Regions from separate parts of the Homo sapiens genome. Here all the other regions are linked to region 1. The links are contacts of gene promoters, found by promoter capture Hi-C in blood cells and fetal thymus (Javierre and others, 2016). All regions are on one chromosome and are shown on one strand. The core of a region is centred on a gene start or on the middle of the fragment in contact, and the rest is flanking DNA. Distances in the headings are between cores, read along the strand shown.

Region 1 (2,700 bases), core at 86-2,585:
CATGCGTGTGTGCGTCTGGGTCCCTGGCTCGGCCGCAACTGGGGCTGTGTGGGTGGTGGAGTGTCTCAGCAGAAATACTGAATATTGAGCCTTGCTGAAGCTGTAATCTCCACGCTGACTGCAGCTGTGGTGGCCGTCCCTGCCACCCCCCCACTGCCCTCCTCCCCTACCTACATGCACAGCCAGCAGGGCCCATCCCCCTCTCCCCCCACCACGGCAAGCCTGGAGACCCCCACCAGCACATGGGGCCTCCAAGCCCCCAGACTCACTGGCATCATCCGAGTCATAGCTGTCCACCTCCGCACCATCCTCAGGCGTGGTGGCCCCAAGGAGGGCTGCAGGGGGGGCCAGAGCCAGGGGGACCAGATGGGCGGGGGCCTCCCCGCCGCCCCCGCCGCCCCCTTCAGGTCCTGGTCCCCGGGGGAAGTAGTCAGAGATCTGGCGGATGGGCCGGATGGGCCCGGGGCACACGTTGATGGCCATGTGCTCCTGGATGTTGATGGTCATGCGATCGCCCCTGCGGCCCCTCATGCAGCACCCCTGGCTAGGAGAGGGCGTGTGAGCCAGTGAGCCCATCATACCTAGCCATCCTGGCTGAGGGCCAGGCGACGGCCTCCTCGGTCTGTGGGGCCCTCACTGGCCTCCCTTCCTAGGTGTCGAGGGAGAGGGTGGTGTGTGCCAGCCGGTGGCAGGTGGGAGGCCTGGGCCCTGCAGACCCCAAGCTGACTCCACAGGGGCTGGGCTGCCAACCCACTCCTTGCAGAAGTCGAGGTTGCACCACCCCGTCCTCACCCACCCACTTCTAGGTTGTCCCTGTATCATCTTGCCAGCTCCTTCCTCTCCTCCGGGGCTCCCCTCTGCTCCTGAGCCTGCCTGTCCCCCAAGGGGCCCTGCAGGGCCCCGCCTCTGTTTCTCGGAGGCTCTGTCCTCCTCTGCACCAGGCGCTGGTCTAGTCAGGGTGTCACCCACCCCTCTAGGCTCCAACTGCCCACTGTCCCCTCATTCAGCCCCAGGACCTGTCTGCCTGCCTGGTTCCCCCGCTCGCTCACCACAGCCCACGGTGGAGACCCCAGCCTCAGATGCCACCTCTGGCTCCTCAGGGGAGCCAGAAATTGCAGCCGCAGGAGAGCCGAACACCCCCGTAGCGCACACAGGCTGGCACGCTTCCCCGCACCCTCACGCCCCCGGCCTGCCCAGCCCCCTGCACCTGCCTCTGCCTCCAACAGGTGCCCAGGCACTGGGGGGACGGCGGGCGCAGGCTGGGCGGCGGCGGCCGGCGAGGAGAGCGCGGAGTCGAGCTGTGCGAGCCGAGAGGGAGGGAGCGCCGAGAAAGTGCGGGGAGGAGGGGGTGAGCGAGGTGGAGGCGAGGATGCAGCCGGCGCGGCGGCGGGGGACGGGGAGGGGCGCTGGGGCTGGGGAGGGGGCGGGATCTCGGACTCCCACCCGGGGCCCGCTCGGGAGCGCACGCGAGCGCGCACACACACGTGTGCTCGCGCGCGCACACTCACGCAGGGGCACGCGGACCGGCACACACTCGTGTGCACACATCCAACCGGGCACCCCCGCGCGCACACGCCCGTGCCCACGTGTGCACGCTCACACCCTTGCACACACCCAGGCGCGCGCTGGCACACTTACCCGGAGAACTTCGCACACACACGCACTCGCAAACACGCGGGCTCCCTGCGCCACCAGGAAGCAGCCGCCAGAATCGCCGGGTGTTCCCCAACTACTCCTGGGAGACCTGGCCCCCCGCCCCCGCCCGCGCGCGCGGCCACGGCGCCTCCCTCCCTCCCGGGTCCCCAAGGCCGGACCACCGGCCTCGTTGTCATGGCGACGCCGGCTCATCTCCCCCCACCCCCGCGCGTCTTCACGCCCCTCCCCCGCAGGGAGCTGGGGCCTCCCTCCTCCCTTCCCCACGTCCGTAGGGACCCACAGGTTGACAGGAGCAGGGGGTCGCCTGCTGTCACCGGCCGGGGATCTCGGGGTCTCCCGAGCCAGGCTGGGGAGCCTCACGATCTGAGGGAGGAGGCAGAGGTCTGATGCTGCGGCTTCCCCCACGCCCCCTCCCTTTGGCCGTTCAGGCCTCTCTCCTTGTGGCCCAACCCAACTCCCAGGGGCCCATGTCCCCTTACCAGGGATGGTATCTCCTTTGGGAACCACCCTCCCCCCTGCCATCCCCAGTTCTGCCCCGCAGGTGGGAAGGGGCGTCGGGGCTTGGCTCTGAAGGTCTCAGAGCCCTGCGGTAGTTCCCCATGGGCTGCCATTTCTCACCCAAACCTTGCCACCCCCAAGCCGCCCCCCTGCCCGGCCCTGCGCCTGCCACGGAGTGTCAGTCCACCCCTGGCCTTCGGTCTTCACTCACCTGTGCCCCAAACTTACCATCCCGAAGACACGAAGGGGCTTATCACCCTCGCTGCCCACCACTGACTCACCCAACCGTTTCCTGCAGTTCCTGGGACACACCTAGACGGCTCAGGCCTAGGGATCTTGGCTCACATGCGCTCCTCTACCTGGGAACCGCGCTTCCTTAGGAAGTCACCGTGGGTCCCCTCTTCCTAGGAGCCTTCCTGGGGCATCCCGCACTGCCCCTCAGCTCCAGCGCCGTCAGGACTCGGCTCAGCACCGCTTCGCCAGTGCCTCCCCCACCAGCAGGGAGTTCCACTGGAGCGGCTGATTCATCTGGGAGTCCCTAATGTC
Region 2 (2,700 bases), core at 122-2,621, 210 kb before region 1:
CACATGTAGCCATTTGAAAAAGACTGGGAAGCCTTGCTTTTTTGCTATTCTTGATTCTCAGAATTTCTTTCTTTGGTCAAAATCTTCCTTCCTTGAGCAGAATCAGTTACTCCTTTGAGAGTGTGTTCTTATCTTCGTTTCCTAAATCACAGCAAAGTGTGGATATCTATCCTACCAGACTGAAAAACTCCAAGAGCAGGGATATCAGATCTATCTCTGTATTCCTAACACCAATAGAGAGATGAGGATGGAGTAGGTGTTAGGTGGATGCTTTTTAAGGTCTTTGTACAAGAAAGGGGATAGAGACGTTCTCTTAAATCCAAGGTCCAGATGAGAGTAGAATCCCTTACCCACCCCCACCCCACTCCACCCCTTACACACACACACACACACACACACACACACACACGCTAATTTCTTTCTTTCTTCCTGCAGGTTTGATGCCTTCTATGGGGAGAGGAGTACTCAGCAGGACATCTATGCAGGTTCAGTGCAGCCCATCCTAAGGCACTTGCTGGAAGGGCAGAATGCCAGTGTGCTTGCCTATGGACCCACAGGAGCTGGTGAGGGAGCCAGAAAAGAAACAGCTATGGGTCAGAAAGGGCTGGGGAAACGGAGAGGAAAACCTCACAGTTTTCTCCACTCTCTTCCCAGGGAAGACGCACACAATGCTGGGCAGCCCAGAGCAACCTGGGGTGATCCCGCGGGCTCTCATGGACCTCCTGCAGCTCACAAGGGAGGAGGGTGCCGAGGGCCGGCCATGGGCCCTTTCTGTCACCATGTCTTACCTAGAGATCTACCAGGAGAAGGTGAGGCCCCGTGCTGGTTGGGAGAGGAGCAACAAAGGGTCAAAGTAAGACCTGGTTCTAGAACATGAAGCTCTGCTGTAGCAGGGAGGTAAGGTGAGACCTAGAAAGACAGAGACTGGGGTAGCAGATGGTACAACTCCGAGAATAGAACAGAGAAAGGAAACTGATCCCCAGGAAGAAACAGCCTCTCTATGGAGAATTGCCCTTCCCCTTCACTGCTTACACAGGTATTAGACCTCCTGGACCCTGCTTCGGGAGACCTGGTAATCCGAGAAGACTGCCGGGGGAATATCCTGATTCCGGGTCTCTCCCAGAAGCCCATCAGTAGCTTTGCTGATTTTGAGCGGCACTTCCTGCCAGCCAGTCGAAATCGGACTGTAGGAGCCACCCGGCTCAACCAGCGCTCCTCCCGCAGTCATGCTGTGCTCCTGGTCAAGGTGAGGCCGCAGACAGGGGCGAGGACCTGGGAAGCCCAGGAGCCTGAGCTAAGCACGAGACCTTTGTTCTTACCCCCAGGTGGACCAGCGGGAACGTTTGGCCCCATTTCGCCAGCGAGAGGGAAAACTCTACCTGATTGACTTGGCTGGGTCAGAGGACAACCGGCGCACAGGCAACAAGGGCCTTCGGCTAAAAGAGAGTGGAGCCATCAACACCTCCCTGTTTGTCCTGGGCAAAGTGGTAGATGCGCTGAATCAGGGCCTCCCTCGTGTACCTTATCGGGACAGCAAGCTCACTCGCCTATTGCAGGTCAGGCCCACCTGTCTCAGGGAAGAAGGGGCTGCAGAAGGAGGTTCTCAGGCCTGCTGTGGGGTGGGGAATAGCAGTTGAGGCATAGGAAGGCTGGGCTTCTGACCCACCCACTGCCTGGTCTCACCCTCAGGACTCTCTGGGTGGCTCAGCCCACAGTATCCTTATTGCCAACATTGCCCCTGAGAGACGCTTCTACCTAGACACAGTCTCCGCACTCAACTTTGCTGCCAGGTCCAAGGAGGTGATCAATCGGCCTTTTACCAATGAGAGCCTGCAGCCTCATGGTGAGAACTGGGGGAGGCAGGAGTGGAAACGCTGGGTCTGGAAATTAGGGAGTTTGTTGAAACCACCAAGCATCAGCACAGAGGCTGACCACCCCCAATCCCTCTCTCCACCCCATCCTCCAATCATCTAGCCTTGGGACCTGTTAAGCTGTCTCAGAAAGAATTGCTTGGTCCACCAGAGGCAAAGAGAGCCCGAGGCCCTGAGGAAGAGGAGATCGGGAGCCCTGAGCCCATGGCAGCTCCAGCCTCTGCCTCCCAGAAACTCAGGTGAGCAGTGGGGCCTTGGGTGTATCCCCTTCCTGATGTATGGCTTAGCAGCAGAGCTGCAATGCCCGTCAGATCCTTGAGCAGAGAGCTGTGATCTTGTTCCTCTCCCATTAAATTCACCCTAGGCCGGATGCGGTGGCTCACTCCTGTAACCCCAGCACTTTGGGAGACTGAGGTTGGGTGGATCACCTGAGGTCAGGAGTTCGAGACCAGCCTGGCCAACATGGTGAAACCTCATCTCTACTAAAAAATACAAAAAGTAGCCGGATGTGGTGGCATGTGCCTGTAATCCCAGCTACTTGGGAGGCTGAGGCAGGAGAATCCCTTGAACCCAGGAAGCAGAGGTTGCAGTGAGCTGAGATTGTGGCCATTGCACTCCAGCCTGGGCGACACAGCAAGACTCCGTCTCAAAGTAAATAAGTGAATTCAACCCTGGCTAGGCACGGTGGCTCACGCCTGTAATCCCAGCACTTTGGGAGGCCAAGACGGGTGGATCACCTGAGGTCAGGAGTTCAAGACCAGCCTGGCCAACATGGTGAAACCCCATCTCTACTAAAAATACAAAAATTAGCCAGGCATGGTAGTGGGCA
Region 3 (2,700 bases), core at 95-2,594, 240 kb before region 1:
AACGGTTCATAGAAGTCTCGTTGTAGCCTGGGCCCAAGGTGCTGTATTCATTGGATAACCATCCACGGATGCTTACTCTGTACCAGGTGTGATGCCAGATGCTGGGAATTTGGAGATGACTGAGTCATGGCCCCTGCCTGAGAATGAGCTCTCAGTTTAGTGGAGAAGGCTTACATGTAAACATATAAATTATAGTGCAGGGTAATTAGAACCATAATAGAGTAATGTAGGAAACACACAGAAGCCAAAGAAAGGAATGATGAATTCTATTTGAAGAGGAGGAGCTGGGAGGAGAAGAGAGCTGAGGCCTTCCTGTGAGAAGGGTGGGTGGTGGTGCAGGCTGGTGGTGGTCCCCTCTGAATAACCTGGAGGTTGCCAGGTGGGCAGAAGGAGGAGAGCATTTTAGGCAGCTGGAGTGTGCATGGGCAGAGTTGAAGATTAGCAATTGCAGGTCACTGTGGGCGGAGAGCAGGACTCCCCTTGGCAACCTGGTGAAGTCACTTCTGCCCATTACTTTATTCATTGGAACAACTAAGAGTGAACAGAAAAGCAGCGCTCATGCCGTCAGACCCTTCTTCCAAATGAAAACGTGCACCAAGGCCCAGTGTATAAATAGGAAGCAGATAATGTTTTTTTCTTAACAGGAAACAGATCTCCCACTGTTTGGAAATATATTTTGAAACTTTTTTTTTTTTTTTTTGAGACGGAGTTTCACTCTTGTCACCCAGGCTGGAGTACGATGGCGCGATCTTAGCTCACTGCAAACTCCACCTCCTGGGTTCAAGCGATTCTCCTGCCTCAGCCTCCCAAGTAGCTGGGATTATAGGTGCCTGCCACCATGTCTGGCTAATTTTTGTATTTTTAGTAGAGACAGGGTTTCACCATGTTTGCCAGGCTGGTCTCAAACTCTTGACCTCAGGTGATCTGCCAGCCTCAGCTTCCCAAAGTGCTGGGATTACAAGCGTGAGCCACCGCAACTGGCCAAAACATTTTTATTATTTTATTTTATTTATTTATTTATTTGAGACACGGTCTTACTCTGTTGCCCAGGCTGGAGTGCAATGGCATGATCATAACTCTCTACAGCCTCAAACTCCTGGGCTCAAGCAATCCTCCGACCTCAGTCCTCCAAGTACTGAGACTGCAGGTGTGTACCACTATGCCCAGCTAATTTTTTTTTTTTTTTGAGATGGAGTCTCGCTCTGTGGCCCAGGCTGGAGTGCAATGGTGCGATCTCTGCTCACTGCAGCCTCTGCCTCCCGGGTTCAAGCCATTCTTCTGCCTCATCCTCCCAAGCAGCTGCAGCAGATTACAGGCATCCACCACCATGCCCGGATAATTTTTGTATTTTTAGTAGAGACAAGGTTTCACCATGTTGGTCACGCTGGTCTCGAACTTCTGACCTCAAAGATCTGCCTGCCTTGCCCTCCCAAAGTGCTGGGATTATAGGTATGAGCCACAGTGCTCAGCCCTCAAATAATTTTTTTAAATTAGTTTTTTAGTTTTTGTGGGGATGGGTGGGGGGGGTCTTGCTATGATGACCAGGCTGGTCTCAAACTCCTGGCCTCAAGCTATCGTCCTGCCTTGGCCTCCCAAATTGCTAGGATTACAGGCATGAGCCACAGGTGTCGGAAACCTTCTGGATGGGGGTGGAGAGGCAGATCCCCACCACAGGTCTGAAATTGCATCAAAACTTTGAAAAGAGGGCAAAGCTGCTTCACCTGAGAGAGGGAGGAGCTTTCAGGGGAATTCTAGATGGGAGGGGAGAAGGTCACACCACATCTGCCATGCCTGTCTCCACTCTTACCCTGCCCAAGTCCCTCCTCCACTTTATCAAAATCAGGAGAGAGCAATCCTTCTAAAATGCAAATATGAGCATGTACCCCTCTGTTCAAAACCCTTCCATGTCTCCCCTCACTGTGAGAAAAGAAGCCAAACTCCTCCAGGCCGGGCGCGGTGGCTCACACACCTGTAATCCCAGCACTTTGGGAGGCCGAGGCAGGCGGATCACGAGGTCAGGAGTTCGAGACCATCCTGCCAACATGGCGAAACCCCGTCTCTACTAAAAATACAAAAATTAGCTGTGCGTGGTGGCGCATGCCTGTAATCTCACCTACTTGGGAGGCTGTGGCAGGAGAATCGCTTGAACCAGGGAGTCAGAGGTTGCAGTGAGCTGAGATTGCATCACTGCACTCCAGCCTGGTGACAGAGTGAGACTCCATCTCCAAAAAAAAAAAAAAGCCAAACTCCTGACCACACCTCTCAGGCTCTGCACACTCTGCCCACTGGCTGCTGCCCAGGCCTCACAGGTCGGCTTCCCTCATTTCCCTCCAGCCACCCTCCTCTCTTCATTATTTCCAAATTCATCACACTTTCAGCTTGTTATCTATGGCAGATAACCTCATTATGGCAGAAAATAAGACTGAAGCATGTGACCAAACATAGACAGACTTTTTCACAAGATAGTCAGTCTCTTGGGCTTATTCAAATTCCAAAGAGAATCATTTACAAGTTAATTCCTATCTTTCGGGTCCATTCATTTCTCCTTTTAAAATATTTTTTTTTTGTTTATTTATTTATTTATTTTGAGACGGAGTCTCGCTCTGTCACCCAGGCTGGAGTGCAATGGCATGATCATAACTCTCTGCAGCCTCAAAATCCTAGGCTCAAGCAATCCTCTGACCTCAGTCCTCCAAGCAC
Region 4 (2,700 bases), core at 81-2,580, 190 kb before region 1:
ATTACAGGCGCCCACCACCACGCCCAGCTAATTTTTTGTGTTGGCCAGGCTGGTCTCAAACTCCTGACCTCGTGAGTTGCCCACCTCAGCCTCCCAAAGTGCTGGCATTACAAGCGTGAACCACCATGCCCGGCCTGCACTCTTCTTTGAACAGAACTCTGTTCTTGTCCTGGGGCCTCTACCCTTGCCATTCCCCTGCCCAGTATGTTCCTCCCTGTTCTTCACATTACCTGTGCCTTCCTGTCAATCAAGATCTTTGCTTCTCACCCTCTCTGAGGTCCAACCCTGAACCTCAGGTCCTCCAAGACAGAGGCCTGGGGACCTGCATGTTTAACCAGCTCCCCAAGTGATGAGTGAGGTCCAGGCAGGTATGGTGTACACCACCTCCATCCCTTCCATGTATCTTACCTTCCTCTTCTCCAGGAAGCTCAGCCCGGAGCCAGAAACGGGAGGCCCGCCTGGACAAGGTGCTGTCGGACATGAAGAGACACAAGAAGCTGGAGGAGCAGATCCTTCGTACCGGGAGGGACCTCTTCAGCCTGGACTCGGAGGACCCCAGCCCCGCCAGCCCCCCACTCCGATCCTCCGGGAGTAGTCTCTTCCCTCGGCAGCGGAAATACTGATTCCCACTGCTCCTGCCTCTAGGGTGCAGTGTCCGTACCTGCTGGAGCCTGGGCCCTCCTTCCCCAGCCCAGACATTGAGAAACTTGGGAAGAAGAGAGAAACCTCAAGCTCCCAAACAGCACGTTGCGGGAAAGAGGAAGAGAGAGTGTGAGTGTGTGTGTGTGTTTTTTCTATTGAACACCTGTAGAGTGTGTGTGTGTGTTTTCTATTGAACACCTATAGAGAGAGTGTGTGTGTTTTCTATTGAACATCTATATAGAGAGAGTGTGTGAGTGTGTGTTTTCTATTGAACACCTATTCAGAGACCTGGACTGAATTTTCTGAGTCTGAAATAAAAGATGCAGAGCTATCATCTCTTAAAAGGAGGGGCTGTAGCTGTAGCTCAACAGTTAGGCCCCACTTGAAGGGAGAGGCAGAATTGTACTCACCCAGATTGGAAAATGAAAGCCAGATGGGTAGAGGTGCCCTCAGTTAGCACCTGTCCCATCTCGGGCCCTCCAACTCCTCCCAGTCCCACTCCAGTGCAGCCAGCTGGCTCCAAGGTAGAAACCCATGAGCACTCAGGGAGCAGTGTGCCTTCAGCTGCAGCAGAAGCAGCCCGGAGGATAAAATGAGAACCAGCTGCACACGGGCCCTTTAACTCCCAAGCCCCACCCCTGGGCTTGGCCTGCCTTGCCCTGCCGGGAAGTGATCCCCAAGGCAGGGTGAGAGTTCCCCATCTGAGGCGTTTGTTGCAGCTACCTGCACTTCTAGATGTGAGTACATTGTACTAGCCCCCCAAACCCCAAATCAGGGGCAGATCTTTGTATCCCTTGAGGCTCTCTTTAGTCCTGTCTTGCTTTGAAGGGCCTTGCTTCTGCTGGGGCAGGGAAAACATGTCTGAATCAGAGTGGGGAAGGAGGATGGGTGGTGGCTTTGCTTTTGGAGGTTTCACTTTCCAATAGTTGGGAGTCTTCTGGGTTTTGAAGTAAAGGCAGATTAACACCAACACCGGTCCCCCACCCCCCTGCAACTCTCAGGCCTCTCTCTGACTTCAGGGTCCCACCTGGGAAATCAGGTGGGGAACCTTACAGGGTCATTCAGACCCCATCTTAGCCCTAGATCGGTGCTTGCTCTACTCACCTGCACTGTCCTGGGGACCTGGGCTCTGGCCTGTCACCTTGAGCTCCAAGAATGTGACCTGTACCCATTCAGGCCCCTTAACTCTGACAGATGAGGGTTTCTTACTCCTCCATGCAGGGCTGGGCCAGCTGTTGGTCTCAGTCGATCATTCAGGAAGTCATTAGCAGAGTGATTTCCAGAAGGCGTAGAATTTAGTGACCAAGGTTCTTTCCTTTTTGGGAGGAGAAAGTGAAAACTAGGATGCTCAGCTGGACCCACCAGCCTGAGATTCTGGGGATTTTAGAGCTGTCCCTTGGGGAGCCAAGCACTTGGGGGTGGAGGTGATAGCGAGGCTGATGGCCCCTGTGTTCTCAGCTCTCTGCCTGGGTAGCCCCTGGGTGATGGGGGAGAGGCCAGCTGTCACGTGGGGTATCAGGTGGCTCTGCCAGAAACTCCCTTGGCACACAGAGCACTGGGTCGGCCCTCGGGTGTGGCTGTTTGGGCAGGACAGCCCTCTGTATGTAGCCTTGAGCAGGTAGGGGGGCCACCTTGAGTGGGTGGCCCAGAGACAGCCTCAGGGCTCCAAGGTAACGGGGTGCTCAGGTTATCTTGGGTGCTGCCCTCCCAGGTTCTGGGGGAGCAGAGGCTGGGCGCTGGCCCAACTTACAGGAAACACTCACCTTTGAACTGCCATTAGCACCATCTGGGCAGTACACAGCCCCACCCAGGTCCTCTAGTTCTTGTTCTCGGCTTAGAATCTTTGTGTTTCTGCCTGAGAAGCCACTGCCTCCTAGTTTGTGGTCTCTACAGTTATAGCCAGGTTGGACTTCCGGCTCCGTCCTTTGATAACTGTGTGCTCTTGGGCAAATTTCTTAACTTGCAGGTTCTTGTGAGGATAACATGAGTTAATTGAGGGCACTTAACACTACCTGGCACAGATTAAGCTCATCTGAAGTGGGAGCTGTTACTTAGGGG

Evidence for each region. The method cuts DNA at HindIII sites, captures the fragments that hold promoters and counts their contacts. A CHiCAGO score of 5 or more calls a contact.
Region 2: a contact is called between a fragment that was not itself captured here and the fragment with the promoter of DOC2A in region 1, in 6 of 17 cell types (M1 macrophages, endothelial precursors, M2 macrophages and 3 more). The highest score is 8.8, in M1 macrophages.
Region 3: a fragment that was not itself captured here is called in contact with the fragment with the promoter of DOC2A in region 1 in 13 of 17 cell types (M2 macrophages, endothelial precursors, activated CD4 T cells and 10 more); the score reaches 10.5 in M2 macrophages.
Region 4: the fragment with the promoter of MVP here is called in contact with the fragment with the promoter of DOC2A in region 1 in 13 of 17 cell types (erythroblasts, megakaryocytes, M2 macrophages and 10 more); the score reaches 11.5 in erythroblasts.

The regions. Positions count from the first base shown.
Region 1 is chr16:30,009,692-30,012,391 of GRCh38, forward strand. It overlaps DOC2A (double C2 domain alpha), which reads right to left and starts at 1,336. Exons shown (of 11, transcript NM_003586.3): 1 at 1,212-1,336; 2 at 270-544. The coding sequence starts at 531. RefSeq lists a silencer at 1,243-1,302. The HindIII fragment of the contact is 12,263 bases long and covers 1-2,700 here.
Region 2 is chr16:29,797,939-29,800,638 of GRCh38, forward strand. It overlaps KIF22 (kinesin family member 22), which reads left to right. Exons shown (of 14, transcript NM_007317.3): 3 at 436-563; 4 at 655-809; 5 at 1,037-1,246; 6 at 1,326-1,556; 7 at 1,690-1,843; 8 at 1,975-2,110. Among named protein-coding and RNA genes, the nearest start is that of MAZ, 7.2 kb to the right of the region's middle. The HindIII fragment of the contact is 5,122 bases long and covers 1-2,700 here.
Region 3 is chr16:29,770,319-29,773,018 of GRCh38, forward strand. No RefSeq gene overlaps it. Among named protein-coding and RNA genes, the nearest start is that of ZG16, 6.6 kb to the right of the region's middle. The HindIII fragment of the contact is 4,460 bases long and covers 1-2,700 here.
Region 4 is chr16:29,819,132-29,821,831 of GRCh38, forward strand. It overlaps MVP (major vault protein), which reads left to right and starts at 1,331. Exons shown (of 15, transcript NM_005115.5): 1 at 1,331-1,379. It overlaps PAGR1 (PAXIP1 associated glutamate rich protein 1), which reads left to right. Exons shown (of 3, transcript NM_024516.4): 3 at 424-2,700. The coding sequence ends at 623. It overlaps MVP-DT (MVP divergent transcript), which reads right to left and starts at 1,236. Exons shown (of 4, transcript NR_186424.1): 1 at 1,053-1,236; 2 at 409-470. RefSeq lists enhancers at 975-1,044, 1,736-2,302, 1,765-2,054. The HindIII fragment of the contact is 7,186 bases long and covers 1-2,700 here.